2 separate regions of the Homo sapiens genome follow, and region 1 is linked to region 2. The links are contacts of gene promoters, found by promoter capture Hi-C in blood cells and fetal thymus (Javierre and others, 2016). All regions are on one chromosome and are shown on one strand. The core of a region is centred on a gene start or on the middle of the fragment in contact, and the rest is flanking DNA. Distances in the headings are between cores, read along the strand shown. Region 1 has its middle 23 kb from the start of NFASC. Region 2 holds the start of GOLT1A (golgi transport 1A).

Evidence for each region. Contacts are between HindIII fragments. The CHiCAGO score rates a contact against its expected background, and 5 or more counts as called.
Region 1: a fragment that was not itself captured here is called in contact with the fragment with the promoter of GOLT1A in region 2 in 1 of 17 cell types (M2 macrophages); the score reaches 5.6 in M2 macrophages.

The regions. Positions count from the first base shown.
Region 1 is chr1:204,803,764-204,807,011 of GRCh38, forward strand. No RefSeq gene overlaps it. Among named protein-coding and RNA genes, the nearest start is that of NFASC, 23 kb to the right of the region's middle. The HindIII fragment of the contact is 331 bases long and covers 1,131-1,461 here.
Region 2 is chr1:204,212,561-204,215,820 of GRCh38, forward strand. It overlaps GOLT1A (golgi transport 1A), which reads right to left and starts at 1,428. Exons shown (of 5, transcript NM_198447.2): 1 at 1,322-1,428. The coding sequence starts at 1,346. RefSeq lists an enhancer at 1,299-1,955. The HindIII fragment of the contact is 7,307 bases long and covers 1-1,797 here.

The DNA.
Region 1 (3,248 bases), core at 46-2,545, 590 kb after region 2:
CCACAAAACCAGTGCAATTCCCCCACCCTCTGTTCTCCTAGCACCCTGGTCAGCTCCCGATCGATCACTGCTAACAACATTGCATTAATTTTGTTCATGTGACTGTTTTCTCCAAAAGACTGTAAGCTCTTTAAGAGCAGCATCTGCACACTGTTTGTCTATCTTTGAACTCAGAGTGCTGCCAGGGTTCAACACATAACTATTCATAAATATATAGTGAAAGTTTCCCTGAACTTGAGAAGTTCACAAAGGAAAATTTAAGCCTCAGTGTACACATATTCATGGTTAAGGTAGGGGTGGGATTAAAGTGCGGTAAGAAAGAAGAGACCTGCCTACATTTTTACATTTTCCAGGGGGCTGGTAGGATGAAGCTGAGGAACTGGGGCTGCAATGATGGAAGAAGGTGCGGGGTTCTGAACTCCTGGGCACACGACCAGCTACAGGCCACTCCCTCTGCCTGTGTGTTATTTCCACAGTGGGAGAGGACCATGGTCTTGTGGCATAGAAAGCAACTAGACCTCCAGGACCAAGTGTTAGTATCCACTGGGTGACCAATAAAAGCAGTAGTGATGTTTTTCTGTGTTGAGTGACCTTCCATCCATCACCTGGGAACTCAAGATATCTCTCTGGGGTTCCCACTCTGCTCTCAGCACTGAGCCACCACAGAGATGAGCAAAATCCAGGCCCCTACCTTCTAGGAGCTCCCGGTGTAGCTGGGGTGAGACTCCTAGTGCTTTGATGGGAAATTTGCCAGGGTATAATTACAGAATGCATTGTGTGGTGTGACCATGAGTGTTCTGGGAGGTCAGGGAAGACAGGAATGACTCTTTACCAAAGGCAGATGGCATTCTTGGTGATAGAAAGAAGTACAACACAATTCTCATGGTAGATGTAGACAAGCAACAAACGCACAGAGCAGCATAAATAGAAAAGAAGAAAGGAAGGAAGAAAAAGGAAAAAAGGCAGGAAGCAGGAAGAAAGAAAAGGAAAAAACAGAAAGAAAAAGAAAGGGAAAGAAGGAAGGAAGGAAGGGAGGGAAGGAGGGAGGGAGGGAGGGAAGGAACATTCCACAAGTTACATGTTGACAGCAGGGAGAGGCCACCTCTATGGGCTTGAGAGAAGGAGTCAGAAGCTTGAATGAGCCTTGAAGAAAAGAAAGTATTTAATTAGGGAGAGAAATGCAGAAGCAGCAGGGCAGATCCAAAGATACATGGGTCACTGAAGAGATGGGAATGTGGGTGCTTGGTCTGTGCCTAGAGACTTGCCTCCCTGTCAATGAATTTTTTTGAAGAGTTTGAAGTTAATGCATGCACACCATAAAGAATTAAAACAGTGTAAAACTAGTATTGATTGAAAATCTAAGCTCCCTCCCAGCCTGACTCTTGGCCCACAGTTCCCTTCTCATGTTAAGCTGGTACCTGTCTCATGGGTTATCTTTCCAGATATTTCTAGGGATATAAAAGCTTATATTTTAATGCAAATAGCCACATACTACACATAGTGTTCTATATCTTGTTGGTTTTTTTAAAGAGATGGGGTCTTGCTATGTTGCTCAGACTGGAGTGCAGTGGCTATTCACAAGTGCAGTCATAGGACACTGTGGCCTCTAGCACTTGGCCTCAAGCAATCCTCCCATCTTGGCCTCCCCAGTAGCTTGGACTACAAGTATGTGCCACAACACCCAGCTTGTTGATCTTTTCCTTACTGATTGGTAGGAGCTTTTACTCATTAAAGGAACCATTTGTTCATGATGTTGCAAATATTTTCTCACTCTGTCATTCATGCTTTTACTTTTTTATGGTGGTTTTTGCTACCATAGTAGAAATGTATGATCTGAGCTTATCAGTTTTTTCTTTTATGACTTCAGGGCTTGAACCATACTTAGATTGTGCACACTTCAAGATTATAAAAATATGCTCCCAGATTTTCTTTTGATACTTGTATAGGTTCAATTTTATTTTAAAATATTTGATTAGTGATCTAGTACTAGTTTTTCTTTTTGACTTTTGCTTGTTTAAATTTTTTATTTAATCCTAAATTTATTTTTAATTATTATGGATACATAGTAGTTGCACATATTTAGAAGTAGTTTCAATTTTAGGAATGATTCTGCTTTTTTAAGTTACAATCTATCTTGGATTTCATCCTTACCATTTTATGAAAGTCATCTCATTCTTTTTCACTGTGTTAATAGTTACTCTATCACATGGACTTACTATAATTCATTAAGTGTGGTAACTCATGACTGTAATCTCAGCATTTAGGGAGGATCACTTGAGGCTAGGAGTTTGAGGTCAGCCTAGGCAACATTAAGACCCCCATCTCTAAAAAAAAATAAAAAATAAATTAGCCAGGAGTGGTGGCACATGCCTGTAGTCCCAGCTACTCAGGAGACTGAGGTAGGAGGATCACCTGAGCCCAGGAGTTTTTCAGTGACTTATGATTGTGCCACTGTGCTCCAACCTGAGCAAGAGTGAGACCCCACCTGTTTAAAATAAAAGGGGAATAAGGCTGGAAGCATCACACTATCTGACTATACTACAAACGTAAAATGCACTACAAAGCAATAGCAATCAAAACAGCATGGTACTTACTCGCAGAAAAACAGACACACAAAACAACAGAACAGAATAGAGAGACCAAGAATAAATCTATGCTCTTACAGCCAACTGATTTCCAACAAAGGCATCAAGAACACACATTGGGCAAAGGCCAATCTATCCAATAAAGGGTGCTGAGAAAACTGGATATTCATATGCAGAAAAATGAAACCAGACTCCCTATCTCTCACCATGTCCAAAAATCAAATAGAGACGGATTAAAAACCAATGTAAGGCCCGAAACTGTGAAACTACTGGAAGAAAATTGGGGAACCCCTTCATGACATTGGTCTGGGCAAGGATTTTTTGAATAAGACCAAAAAAGCACACGCAACAAAAGCAAAAACAGGCAAATAGGATTCCATTAAACTAACAAGCTTCTGCACAACAAAGGAAATGATCAGCAGAGTGAAGTGACGACCTACAGAATGGGAGAAAACATTCATATACTTCGCATCTGACAAGGGGTTAATATCCAGGACACACACGGAACTCAAAGAATTGTAAGTCTTAAACGATGGCTTTAAACAAATTTTGTGAAAATTTAACCATCAGGTCTGGTATAAGCCAGCTCCAGGACACCACTGGAAGGGTTCCTGTTTTGGAAGCTGGACTCTGTCCTCCTCTTGGAGCCCTCGGAGAGAGCAA
Region 2 (3,260 bases), core at 178-2,677:
CAGGAGGTGGAGGTTGCAGTGAGCAGAGATCATGCCACTGTACTCCAACCTGAGCGACAGAGTGAGACTCTGTCTCAAAAAAAAAAAAAAAAAAAAAGAACTGGCTTCCCTGCTGCTGCCTTCATACCTCCACAGTCTATTCTCAACCCAGCACCCAGAATGATCTTTTAAACATAGAAATAGAACATATCACACCATAGCACAAAACCAAGGTCATTACCATGGTCTATAAGTCTCCAGTGTCCTGACCCCTCAGTGACATCCCTGACCTAAACTCCTATGATTCTCCCCTCACCTCACTTTGCTCCAGGTATACCCACCTCCTTGTTGTTCTTCAAACACACCAAGTATGCTAATGCCTCAGGGCCTTTGCACTGCCTGTCCCTGCTTCCTGAACATTTCCCCTCCAGAGAGCTGCGTGGCTTTGCTTCCTCACTTCCTATAGATCTCTGAAAAAAGATCTGAATAAAGGCTCACCTTCTCAGTGAGGCTTCCCTGACCACTCTATATAAAATAGCGACCCCTCCTACCTCGAACTCCATAGCCTCCTCTTGTTTTATTTTCATCTGGAGGACTTATCATCTTCTGATATACTATATACTTCTTTCTGTTAATTACCTGTCTCCCCTCTCTAGAATGTAAGCAGGGAGTCAGTTTCATTTAATGTTGGACACTCTATATCCAACACAGTGCTTGGCACACAGCAGAGACAAATCTGTTGAGTGAACAAAAGAATGTTGTCACCAATTCTCAGATGAAAAACCAAGGCTCAGAGGCTTTAAGTAACTCACCCAAATGAAGCCCACAGAGCCACGGTTCTTCCCATGGCCCCAGACTTGTTCCAAGACCTCCTCCCTACCTCTTCCCCCAAAAGAAGGGGAAGGATGTTTAGGAGTGAGGGTATGGTGGTTTGGTCAGGGGAGTGGAGTTTAGTTTTTTATAAGAAGCCCCCAGGGCCACAGGAGACCTTGATGGTGTGGGGAAAGATGTCTGAATGGGCAGAGGCCTCCTGAGTCCACCTTTGTGGCAACCCAGTTCTAAGAACCCGGGATGGGAAAGGGGTCAGTGTGAATGGGGAACCTGCCAGGCCCCCTGGGCACCAGCCTCTAGCTACCTGTGGGCCCTGAGCAACTCCCACCCGCTGGAGGGTAGGGAGCCACACCCCACCCTGCCTGCTGCCCCAGGGTGCCAGCACAGCATCTCCCAGCCCCTGGCTCCAGAGGTCACGCTTGTAGTGACAGAGAGCCCAGCTGGGAGAGAGAGCCAGCCGGCAGGGAGCCTGGCCTGGATAGCCCATTGCAGCCCCGCTCATCCCACTTACTCTGCCATTCGGTGATGGAGATCATGCCGCACTCAGCCTGGGGGGCTTTCCGGGTGGAAGCGGGCAAGTGGAGCGTGGCCCAGAGGACGCAGCTGGTACATGGTCACGGGAAGCTGACCCTTGGTTAAGTTGCGAAATGAGCCTGTGGCAAATCATTAACTCTCCCTCCAGCCCCCGCTCCACCCCCGCACACCACGCAGGTGCTTCTACTCGCCAGCTCCCTCCTCCCGTTTTCCGGTAGGGCAATGCCCCGCCCCTCCACCTGCCGCGCCTGCCCGGGGAAGGCACCGCCCACCTGACCCTTTCCTCGCACCTCGCGGTGTTCTGCGGCTCTCGTCTGCTCCGCGAAACTTAGATTGTATGTGGAAGCATTGGAATCTAGGGGGTGCTCAAGTTTCTTGCTTGGTTTGATAGTGTGGGAAGAGTTGGCATCTGCGCATCCCTTTGGGAATGTACTAAATTCATCTTGAAAGTCAAGCTTTTTGCTCTCTGCTATTGCACATGCTAGGCGCTGGGAGGCGATGAGCGACTGAGCACAAAGCCTGTTGTTGACCTAATGGCAGAGCCAGATCGGGTTAAATCAATGGCAAAAGCGCCATGGGGGAAGTTAGACGTGAAGGTCTTCGACCTCCTTTCCCCAAGCGGCGTCCAAGCTTTGGACTGACTGTGATGTTGAGCTATGGAAGACAAAGCCCTGAATTTGGGGTTGGGGCAGGACTGCACAATTTAGGAGGCCTGGTTCTAGTCTACCCACCAGCTGTGTAGACATGGATTCGTCCTTTGGGCCTGCAAAAAGAGAGGCAGTTAGTTCCTAACATCCTTTTTTCCCATCGCAGAGCAGTGGTTCTGACGTGGCATTGATGCCAGGAGAGCCAACATCCACTTTGCAATGTCTTCTGTGTCCAGAAATGAAGAAATGAATTTCAAAGACTACCTATATACATCATTTAAAAATGCAAATAGGCCTGGCATACAAAATGCATTATGTCTGTAATCCCAGCATTTTGGGAGGCCAAGGCAGGAGGATTGCTTGAGCCCAGGAGTTTGAGACCAGCCTGAGCAACATAGTGAGACCTTGTCTCTACAATAATAAAAATAAAAAATTAGCCGGATGTGGTGGTACCTGCCTGTAGTCCCAGCTACTGGGGAGGCTAAGGTAGGAGGATTGCTTGAGCCCAGAAGGTCGAGGCTGCGATGAGCTGTGATCAAGCCATGCACTCCAGCCTGGGTAGCAGAGCGAGATCCTGTCTCAAAAAAAAACAAACCAAACAACAACAACAAAACCAAGGAAAGCTAACATAATTTTTTAAAAAGAAACAAAAAGATAAATTATAATAAAACATGATGTCTTTCAATATATAAATGTTCAGGCAAGACTTACCAGAAGACATAAATGAAATAGGCAGATTGCTTGCACCCACACATAATATATGTTTGAATTTAAGAGAAATAGAAGATGAGCCATTCTATGCAAAAACAAAAATCACACACATGCAAGAAAATGAAAGAGTAGCAGGAAGTGAACATAGAATAAAAACTGTTAGATAAGGAATAACAGACCAGACGTACTTGCATATGATGAGAGGGAAAGCATCTTAATTGAAATAGGGATAACATAGCAAGGCAAATTAGAGAGCACAAGGTGGAGATAATATAGAAGTATGATGTGCATGCAAAGGAACTCAGTCTTAGGTATGTGTGTATTGTCAAAATAGCTCCCATGGAATGGGGTCGCCATAGAGTACCACAGACACATCAACCTCTGTCTTGAAACATATCAGCGTTGAGGTAAAATTCAGTCTCTGGGATCTTAAAAGGCCTTAGAGATCACATATTTCCAATGGGCAATGGGGGATAGAGGATGGATTGGGAAAAGAAAAGAAGATAAAAGTGGTTTAGAGCAATTGCATGTGGACACCCGGGACAGTGTTGTAAAGAC